Regions from separate parts of the Homo sapiens genome. Here region 2 is linked to region 1. The links are contacts of gene promoters, found by promoter capture Hi-C in blood cells and fetal thymus (Javierre and others, 2016). All regions are on one chromosome and are shown on one strand. The core of a region is centred on a gene start or on the middle of the fragment in contact, and the rest is flanking DNA. Distances in the headings are between cores, read along the strand shown. Region 1 holds the start of SLC22A14 (solute carrier family 22 member 14). Region 2 overlaps DLEC1 (DLEC1 cilia and flagella associated protein).

Region 1 (5,516 bases), core at 1,476-3,975:
CCATGCCTGGTCCCTGGAGACTTTTTCTTTCCTTTTTGGGGGGATTATGGTTGGTTGGGGAGAAAGATTTTTTTTTTTTTCTGTGTGTATTTAAAAGTGTCCTGTGGTTTGCTCTGATGAATGGGTAAGTGTCCTTTAGCAGTCACTGATGGGAGGTTGGCTGCTGAGGCCTCTGGGACTCTGAAGGAGAAGATATGCAGCTTCACTGGACCCTGGTTGTGTATCTCCTTGATTTTGCTCCTCAAAGGTTACGGCAATGGTGACTATCAGTCCTAAACATTTAGTCCAGGTGTGTGAAAGCGAAACTGTGCCCCAAACAGTTAAAGACACCAATGACTAACAGAAATTCTTGAGTTTGCAGGATGGTAGGTAAGCAAAGAAACAACTTGCTGAGATGCTGAAAGTCCCTCCACTTGTAAGACAACAAAGCTGGCTAAAATAGGTTGGAACCAATGTGGCCAACTAGAGTCTGTGCAGTACCTGCTTGCTGACATCACAGCCTGAATTTCCACTGCGTGTTTCATACTCACTCCCCCCGTACCTGCCCATGTGATCTATGAGGTGTCATGAAGAGAACTGCGCATGCTGGAGGACTTTCCAGGCCTCCTCTTTCCTTCCACTAATCACCTGCTAATCTCAGAATCCCGACACCTTTTCTAATAAAAACACTGCCTTAGCACCAGCCCAGGGAGACAGATTCAAGCTGGACTCCTGTCTCCGTGTCGGCCGGCCTATAATTACAAGCTTTTCTTTTCTCAAAAACCCGGTGTCATCATATTGGCTTCTAGCACATTGAACAGCAAGCCCCTTTCTGCCTAGAAACAATCTGACCCTCATATTTACTAGTTTTCTCAACCTGTAACCAAGGGAAACAAAAATGACCTCCTAAATTTTTAACAAAGGCAATCAACATTTGTAGCTGGTATGAATATTTGTTCTGTAAACTCATATCTGCAGGCAACAGAATGTTTCTTTAGCCTATGAGCCTCCATCTTGCTGAGCTGATTGGAAATTCATCTCAGCTGTTATTGGGGCTCTTCTCAACCCAGAGAGTTCTGGGATCTTTTTTTTTTTTTTTGAAAAGGAGTCTCAGTTTGTCACCCAGGCTGGAGTGCAGTGGTGCAATTCTCTGCTCACCGCAACTTCTGCCTCCTGGGTTCAAGCGATTCTCTTGCCTCAGCTTCCCGAGTAACTGGGATTACAGGTGTGCGCCACTGCGCCAGGCTAATTTTTGTATTTTTAGTAGAGACAGGGTTTTGCCATGTTGGCCAGGCTGGTCTTGAACTCCTGACCTCAGGTGATCCGTCTGCCTCAGCCTCCCAAAGTGCTGGGATTACAGGCGTGAGCCACCATGCCCAGCCGAGTTCTGGGATCTTATGTAACCAAAACAAACCAAAACAAAGGGGTGCTCCCACCCTGCTCTTCAGTCTCACTGATGGCTTCTGGGTGCTCACTGTGCTGTCTGCTTGGTCCCTTTGACCCCCAGAGTGCTGCTGCTCAAGAGTGGGGAACTCTAGGGGGGATGAGGGGCCTAGGACCAACCACTGAGGTGACCTGCAGACACCCCGAGGGAGGTCTGGTGAAAGAGGAAGGATCTGATGCCCCAGATACCAATAAGATTGCAGTGCCCTGCCCCCAAACAAGTGAAGATTGAGCCATAGGAAACTGCAAAAGAGCTGTAAGTAGGTTTCCCTGTGATCAATACTTCATTTTTTTTCAAATATATGAAATTCTTTTAATTTTTTTTTGTGTCTTAAGTGTCTGTGTTAGTCCATTTTCTGTTGCTTATAACAGACTGCTTGAAACTGAGTTATTTATAAAGAAAAGAAATTTATTTCTTACAGTTCTGGAGGCTGGGAAGTCCAAGGTTTAGGGAATACATCTGGTAAGGGCCTTCTTGCTGTTGGGAACTCTGCAGTCTCCCAAGGGGGCACAGGTGAGGGAACCGAGCAAGCTAGCTTGTCTTTCTTCCTCTTGTTATAAAGTCACCAGTCCCATTCTCATAACTCATTAACCCATTAATCTACTAATCCATGATTGGTGATTCATGGATTAACAGATTACACTCATGACCCAATTACATCTTAAAGGCCCCATCACGCTACCACACTGGAGATGAAGTTTCAACATGAGTTTTGGAGAGGACAAATATTAAGCCATAGCAATGCTCTAATTTTGTTGAGGTCCTAAGTACATGCTGTACTGGTACAAGGATGGTCTGCCTTGTACTAGGCCCTGTGCTGGTTTTCCTGTCCTGCCACTTTGGCCTCCCTTCCCCCAAGCATGAAGCTTGAAGCCCTGTTCCTGCAATCTGGCAGAGGAGGCTTCTAGCTTATGGGGGAGATGGGTCAGACCCCGGCAGCTCTGACCAAGGCTGGTTGGCAGGGGAGTGTCACGGAGAGACAGAGCAGAAGTGAGTGGGGTAGGGCCAAGCCATTTCCAGCTGTGGGCTCAGGAAGGCTTGAAGGATAGTTGATAAATGAGTGATATCTGGAAGGACAGGAGAATTTCCGAGAGTGGAGGTGGAGCCCTCGTGTGGAGGAAACAGCCTGCACAAAGACAGGGGCAGGGGGGTTCGTGTGGCAGTTTTCCTGACCTGCCTTGCCCCTGGAGGCTACAGCCAGTTGTGTCCCTGGAGTAGAATGCTGACCCTCACCATTCCCAGCTCACCCCAAGGACCTCCCCACCCCATTGTGACACTACTTCCTGGACACCAGTGGAGCTCAAAGGTTCTGCTTCCAAGGGTCTGGCTGGGCCTGGATTGTGGTCAGGTGGGCCCTGGCTTTGGCTTGCGGTCCTGCCTACAGGGAGGCAGGGCCGGGAGGGTGTGGAGAGTAGAAATTATGATGACCCCTGGCAATTTTGCGGCCGCGTTCTCAGCACAGGTGTGGACAGGAGCCTGCCTGGGCCTGTTTGGCTGTGGGGAATCTGTGGAAGGAGCGGGCTGCCCTCCCAGAAAGCGTGAGTTCTCAGGTGTGGCGTCTGGCCATCTCCTGCGGCAGGTGGAGTGCTCCTCCTGGCTATGCTTCTCCCAGGCCTCAGTTACCTCTTTGGCACATTGAGAGCCAATTGCCTGGGGCCTGTCCACCTGGCAGAGGACCTTTGGGATGAGTAGAGGGAGTGAGTGCTCCAGGGTATTGGGGTATCAGGTGGTGCTGGGGGATGCTGAAGCGGTCCCTGCAGAGGGAGGCTGGTACAGATGGCTCTGGTCCAGAAGCCACATCTCTGAGAGGACAGCGGAGGCTCTCCCTCCCTGGAAAGTCTCCTTTATCCACCTCCACCCTCTCCAGCCTTACACACATACATCCTGTATTGGTTTCCTATTGCTGCTATAACAAATGCCCACACTTAGTGGCTTGAAACAGCAGAGACTTATTACCTTATGGTTTTGGAGGTCAGAAGAACAAATGGGCCTCAGCAGGCTAAGATCAAGGTCTCAGAAGGATTGCCTTCCTTTCTGGAGGCTCTAGGGCAGAGCTCATTTCCTTCCTTGCCTTTTCCAGCTTCTAGAGCCTCCTGCATTCCTTGGCTCTGGGACCCCTTGCATCTTCAAAGCCACCGACGGCTGCCCAAATCTTTATCACGCTGCATTTCTTTGGGTCTTATGCATTTAAGGATCCTGGGATTAATGGGACCTACCTGACAATCCAGGATAATCTATTTTAAAGTCAGCTAAGTAGTAACCTTAACTTCATCTGTAACTTTAACCCCCCTTGCCATGTAAGGAAACATATTTACGAGTTCTGAGGATTAGGCATAGATCTCTCCGGGGGGCGCTTATGCAGCCTCCCCCACCTCCCAGCACACACACATCTAAGCATGCTCTCCCTCTGTGTTCCCTGCCTCTTATGCACCTCCAAATTCTGCTGAGATAAGGGATCCCGAACTCAGGGCCAGGCAGGAGGCAAAGACAAGTGAAATGGGGAAATGGTGCTGGGCTCTGCTGGGCCTCCTGCATGCACACATCAGAAGTAGCAGGAGCCGGGTGCAGTGGCTCACGCCTGTAATCCCAGCACTTTGGGAGGCCGAGGCGGGAAGATCACTTGAGGTCAGGAGTTCGAGACCAGCCTGGCCAACATGGTGAAACCCCATCTCTACTAAAAATACAAAAATTAGCCAGGCGTGGTGGCTTGCACCTGTAGTACCAGCTACTCGGGAGGCTGAGCCAGTAGAATCACTTGAACCCAGGAAGCAGAGGGTGCAGTAAGCCGAGATCACACCACTACATTCCAGCCTGGGTGACAGACCGAGATTCTGTCTCACAAACAAACAACAACAACAACAATAATAACAAAAAACAGAGCAGACTCTCAGTCTAAAGGAGGGGCCCCTGCTCAGATTTGCTAATTGTTGCCAGATGGGAATGCTGTCCCATTGGCCAAACTTCAAAAAGAAAATGCTGCATTTATGTGAAATCAACTTTTGGCAGTTAAATCACATTCCAAGACACAGTGAGGCACCAAATGGGCTAGCCAAGGGAAATGTGTCTGCAGGCTGGATTTGTCCCGTAGACGATGAGCTGGAGACCTCTTCCCTGGATTATGGAACAGCAGTCGCAGTCTGAGAAGGAGGCATCCCCCTCGTGTGACTGGTAGAAAACTAGGGGCCCAAGAGGGAAAGGGGACTCCTCCTCAAGCAGACAGCTCTTCTCCATCCCTGTCCGCCCTGTCCGATAGTAGAGCGAGGGGCTCATGGTGGCTTCTGAAAGTGGCCCTAGCCTTGGCTAGGGCTAGTGGGGCAGCTTGGTGACATGCCCAGGTGAGGACCCCATGGGGGCTGGGGGCCAGGCTGGGTCACTCCTCCAGGGCCGGCCTAAGAGGGATAGATTTGGCGAATGCAGCTCGGCCTCCCCACAGATCCCTGCCCTCTAGGCCCACCACAGTGCCATCCCCAGCCAGGCAAGGGCCCCTGGTGTCCCAGCCAAGGCCCGTCCTCTAAAGAATTCTCTGAAGAAACTTTCCCAGAATGCTGGGAATGTGCAGGGATCTTGGCAGAAATGAGAGGAAGAACTTAGAAAGGAGGCCTCCGCTAATCATTACAATATGCCTCAGTGTCTTCTGCAGTGCTTAGGGAGCAAGTTCCCGTGAGACGAAGGACCAGAGCGTAGGAAATGTGAGAATACATGGAAGAATGTCCCCTTCAAGGACACCTGGCCTGACAATGTGGGTGATCAGCCTCCCACAAAATTAAAAAAAAAAAATCACAAGAACAGAGACAAGGGTTCTCATCATACTACGAAATGACCGAAAAGCAATACAAATTATAAGACCCAATGCTGCTGGTGGGACTGTAAGGAAATGGACACCTCGTGAACTGTTGTGGACTCTGAAATGGGTTGCTCTTTCCGGAGGACATTACGAGCCTATGTTATAAGAGCCATATAAACAATCCTACTTCTTGGACCTTAGCCCAGGGAAGAAAGACAGCCTTCTGCACCATAATGTGTACAGAAAAGTTGTCTGGGGTAGTGAGGAAGCAGTGAGAAACAGCCTTGGTGCCCAGTAGCTACCATGAAG
Region 2 (5,516 bases), core at 825-3,324, 180 kb before region 1:
TTTCTTCTTCATTCTCCCTCCGCTCCCCCACTTCCCTCCTTTTCTTTCTTTCTAGTGGAAAACTTCTCATATATATAAAAACAGAAAGAATAGTATAATAAACCTCCACATACTCTTTCCTCCCTTCAATAATTGTCAACTCACTGCAAGTACTGTTTCATCCATATCCCCTATCTCCTTCTCCCCACTCCTTCCCAAATTATTTTCAAATAAAATATTCATTTTCCTGCTGGGCATGGTGGCTCACGCCTGTAATCCCAGCACTTTGGGAGGCCGAGGCAGGCAAATCACGAGGTCAGGAGTTCGAGATCAGCCTGGCAACATGGTGAAACCCCGTCTTTACTAAAAATACAAAAATTAGCCAGGTATGGTGGTGCTCGCCTGTAGTCCCAGCTACTTAGGAGGCTGAGGCAGAAGAATCACTTGAATCCTGGAGGCAGAGGTTGCAGTGAATGAATATATATATATATTCATTTTCTTAAGCTGGCTGGTGATAATATTTTGTTTCTAAAGTTGTGTGGAGGTAGTACATAGATGTTGTTTTATTATTCGTTAAACTATATATATGTTTAAACTGTATATATGTTTTATACTCATTTTTGCATATATTTGGTGTTTCATTGTAAAAACATTTAAATGCTCATTTAAATCTCTGTGGATGCTCTTGAATTATCCTCCAAAAAGACTGTGTCATTTTATACTTCTGCCTACAGTGTGTGAGACTAGCCATTACCCCACACTTTCACCATGACAAATGTTGTTGGACTTTGTATACTTGACCATCTGACAGTTGTTCAAATGTCCCCTCCTGTGATAACAAATACAGGTCTAGGTATGAGTCTTTGCATTGGTCCTTCAGGGCAATTTGCGGGCATTAGATGTGAAGGCTAAGTCTGCCTGCAGCTCAGGGGAAGGGCTTTCTATTAAGTCTGTGCTTATTTCCTTTCCTTTTCTGTCTCTGTTCTTTCTCCTGAAAGGACCTTGTATTATCAGAATGTTTACAGTAGCAGGTGATGGAAACACAGACATTACCAACTTAGGCAAAAAAGAGGAAGCATTGGCTCACGTAACTGGGCATTCCCACCTTGCTGAATCCAAGGGCCCAACACTTTTCCCTTTGTCTGGTCTTCTGCTTCCTCTCTTTCTCTACCCTCTTTCCCCCTTCTCTACCTCCATCCCAGCCCCAACCCATCTACTGCTCTTTTTTTGTGGGCCCTTCTCTCCCCTATTGACAAGGGCCCTTCGCACTCTGCCTTGGGGAGAGGCCACTTAGAGCTCCAGGCTCACACACTCCCACCTTAACAATCTCTGAGAGCCAATCTGGCTCTTTGCAGAGATAGGCCCTGATTGCTCTTGCTCTTGTGTGGGTCATGTACCCGCCCCTTCCCCTGCTGGGTGACAGGGAGGATCTGTCTCCAGAAGAGGCAATCATGTTTCGAAATTTCAAGCTTTGTTGTTCTTGCGTCTTTCCTTTTCTATAGTAATCTGTTATAGTCTTATCAATGCAACAGCCTCTCAGATTCCCCCAAGAAAATGAATTTCTGTTTTCCCAGATGTTGGAGTTCTTCTTTACTTTTTGAGTTTTCTTCTGCTTCTAGTAATCTTTGCCTGTCCAGTCCTGTTTTTGAATGGAGGAGGAAGTTGATTTGCATAAGGAGCTGGTGTTGTAAGTTTCTTCTGAGTAAAAGGGGGTAGATGTGGAGAGCACCCCTATTCTAAGGGATGAAGTACATGTGAGTCACCACCCTCAGAGCACACAGCTAGCCTGAATCCATCAGAGAAAGGGACCTTTGGGGAAAACAGCCCTAAACAAACAGTGGAGAAAACCCATACTGGGCAGCTACACAAATCAATTCGTGCCTTCATTCATAAATAAGAATGAAGGAATAGCATCTTTCTGGTTGTTTCCTCCTCATGACAGTTGAGAGGTCCAGTGTTACTGCAGGCTCTGCCCTGGCCTCTCTCCAGCGTGATACCCACAGTCTTCAGTGGGGGCAAATACTGTGGCAGCCCAGTCTTTTTCTTAATTTTCAATTTTAATTTTTATTATTTGTACAAATTTATGGGGTACATGTGCAATTGTGTTATGTGCGTAGATTATATAGTGGTCAAGTCAGGGCTTTAGGGTATCCATCACCCAAATAGCATACATTGTACTCATGAACTAATTTCTCATCACCCATTTCCCTCCTATGCCCTCACCCTTCCGAGTCTCCGTTGTCTATCATTCCAATCTCTATGTCCATATGTACACGTTTTTAGCACCCACTTGAGTGAGATCATGTGATATTTGACTTCTGTGCCTGGGGCAGCCCACTCTTCCATGTGTTGCTCTGAGCTCTGGGGCTGGAGCCCTGACCTGGCTAAGCCAATGGATCTTCAGCAGTGCTTTGCTCAGCTCCCCCGCCCTTTGATGCCCTCATTCCATCATTAAGGATTGCATTGCACGTAACCTGTGCAGGGATTTCAAGCAGCAGTTTTGTTCTCCTCTGTTTTATCAGTTAACCTGATCACATTATTTCTTTCTCCTATTTTCTTTTCCTTGTTTGCATAACATTTTATTTGCTTTATTATCTTTTACTTCAAAATTTTCACAAATAGGGCATTTGCTAGATATTACATTTCTTTGCATTCACAATTTGTCTGTTTGGCACAAAGCTAGCTTTCTGCCTGTGTCAGCTTTGAATGTGCCTTCCTCACTAAGCTTAATCATTTTTTAGCTTAATCATTTTGATTTAAAGTGAGATACGTACGACTCTTCTTTTCACTTGAAGACTTAGAGGCTATTGTAGGGTTATCAGTTGGTCTAATTTCAATATTGTTGTGTCTCAAGGAATAGGGAGGCCTGAGGAGAGGGAGAGAGACGGAAATGACCAGTAAGTAGAGCAGTCAAAATGCACACAGCATTTACCAGTTGAGCCCATTATCGTATATGATTGCTGTTTATGGCACCCCAAAACAATTACAGTAGTAACATCAAAGATCACTAATCACAGGTTACCATAACAGCTATAGCAAAAAAGTTTGCAAGACATGACACAGAGACATGAAATGAGGACATGCAATTGGAAAAATGACATTGATAGGCTTGCTCAATGCAGCGTTGTCACAAACCTTCGATTTGTAAAAATCACAGTATCTGTGAAGTACAATAAAGCAGAGCATAATAACATGAGGTATGTTTGTAACTGAATTTCTTATATAGGTCAATTTAGACTTTTTTCTTGGCCAGGCACAGTGGCTCATGACTGTAATCCCAGCACTTTGGGAGGCTGAGGTGGACGGATCACCTAAGGTCAGGAGTACGAGACCAGGCTAGCCAACATGGTGAAACCCCATTTCTACTAAAAATACAAAAATTAGCCGGGTGTGGTGGTGCACACCTGTAATCCCAGCTACTCGGGAGGCTGAGGCATGAGAATAGCTTGAACGTGGGAGGCAGAGGCTGCAGTGAGCCGAGATTGTGCCACTGCACTCCAGCCTGGGCAACAGAGCAAGACTCTGTATGCCCCACCCCATCCCCCCAAAAAAAGATTTTTTTTTTTTTCTCAGTTTTGGTAGTTTGCATCACTCTAGGAATTTAGGAATTTGTCCATTTTATCTGTGATGTAATTTGTTGGTACATAGTTGTTAGTGGTATTCTCTGATAATTATTTTTATTTCTGTATGATCAGTAGTGATGTCCCCACTTTCATTCCTGATTTCTCTAATTTGAATCTTCAGCAAATTTTTCTTGGTCAGTCTAGTCTAGCTAAAGGTTTATCAATGTTGGTGATATTTTCAAAGAACCAGCTTTTGCTTTTGTTGATTTTCTGTAATGTTTTTCTATTTTCTATTTCATTTATCTCTGCTTTCTAGTCTTTATTATTTCTGTCCTTCCACTTGCTTTGGGTTTAGTTTGCTCTTCTCTTTCTAGTTTCTTAAGGTAAAAGCTGAGGTTTTTGATTTGCAATCTTTCTTTTTTGTTTGTTTAAAGAAAATTGTATTTACAAATATAAATTTTCCTCTAACCACTCCCTTAGTTGCATCCTATAACTTTTCATATATCATGTTTTCATTTTCATTGATATAAAAGTATTTTCTAATTTTTCTTGTGGTTTCTTATTTGACTTGTTTATGAATGTGTTATTTAATTTGCACATATTTTGTTTCACAAATTTCTTTCTGTTGTTGATTTCTAATTTGATTCTATTGTTGTTGGAGAACCCACTTTATATAATTATAGTCGTTTAAAACTTATTGAGACTTGTTTTATGGGCTATTCTGGAGAATATTCCTTGTGCACTCGAGAAAAATAATGTATTCTGCTGTTATTGTGTAGAGTGTTGCCTGTTCTGTTTGGTTTATAGTGCTGTTTAAATCTTCTATTTCAATGTTTATCTTCTGGTTAGTTGTTTTTCCATTATTAAAAATGGGCTGTTGAAGTCTCCAACCATTATTGTTGAATTGCTGATCTCTCCTTCAATTCTGTCAGTTTTTGCTTCATGTATTTTGTGGTGCTGTTGTTAGATACATACATGTTTATAATTGTTATATCTTTCTAATTTATCTTTTTATAATTATAAAATATCCTTCATTGTCTCTAATAACCATTTTTGTCTTAAAGCCTATTTTATCTAACATTCATATATCTCCTGGAGCTCTCTTTTGGGTACTGTTTGCATGATATATATTTTTCCATCCTTTTTCTTTGAAACTATTTGTGTCTTTGAATCTAAAGTGTCTCTTGTAAACAGCATATACTTGGATCATTTTTTTAAAATCCATTTTGCTAATCTCTGCCTTTTGATTGGATTGTTTAATCCCTTTATATTTAATGTAAATACTGATAAAGTAGAACTTCATCTCCCGTTTTGCTATTTGTTTTCTGTATGTATTTTGTGTTTCCTGCATTCCTTGTGTTTCCTGCATTCCTCCATTATTGCCTTCTTCTTTGTTAGATAGGTAGTTTCTAGTATGCCATTTTAATTTCCATGTTTCTTTTACTTTTTAAAAAGTTATTTTCTTACTGGTTGTCCAGGGCTTTATAGTATATCTTAATTTCAAAACAGTCTGGTTTAGATTAACACCAACTTAATTTCAGTAGTCTGAAATGTTACTGTAATATAGCTCAGCTCTATTCTCTCCCCTTCCTTTGTACTATTATTGTCATACAAATTACATATTTATACATTATAGGTTTATCAAGACAGTTTTACAGTTATTGGTTTGTATAGTTGCCCTTTAAATCAGATAGAAAAGTAAGCAAAAATACATTTATTCTGTCTTTGTATTTACATATGAATTTATCTTGATATGGTTATATCAGTCAAGGCTTAATATTTATTTCTTAATAACCTATTAAGACATTTATTACAAAGAATCAGGTTACACAACTATAGGGACTAGCTAGGCAAGCCTAAAATCTGTAGGGCAGGTTTTCAGGAAGGGCATGCTGGCATTTTTGGGGACAAGATGAAGATGTTATAAACACATGGAATTTCTTTGTCTGGGTAAGCCCATTTCTGCTTTTAAGA

The links. Contacts are between HindIII fragments. The CHiCAGO score rates a contact against its expected background, and 5 or more counts as called.
Region 2: a contact is called between a fragment that was not itself captured here and the fragment with the promoter of SLC22A14 in region 1, in 3 of 17 cell types (neutrophils, M2 macrophages and endothelial precursors). The highest score is 6.8, in neutrophils.

What each region holds. Positions count from the first base shown.
Region 1 is chr3:38,279,569-38,285,084 of GRCh38, forward strand. SLC22A14 (solute carrier family 22 member 14) reads left to right here and starts at 2,726. Exons shown (of 11, transcript NM_001320033.2): 1 at 2,726-2,771. The HindIII fragment of the contact is 3,768 bases long and covers 2,288-5,516 here.
Region 2 is chr3:38,100,949-38,106,464 of GRCh38, forward strand. The region is part of intron 19 of DLEC1 (DLEC1 cilia and flagella associated protein); the gene reads left to right. LOC105377033 (a long non-coding RNA gene) reads right to left here. Exons shown (of 2, transcript XR_940727.3): 2 at 2,542-2,845. Among named protein-coding and RNA genes, the nearest start is that of ACAA1, 33 kb to the right of the region's middle. The HindIII fragment of the contact is 1,256 bases long and covers 1,447-2,702 here.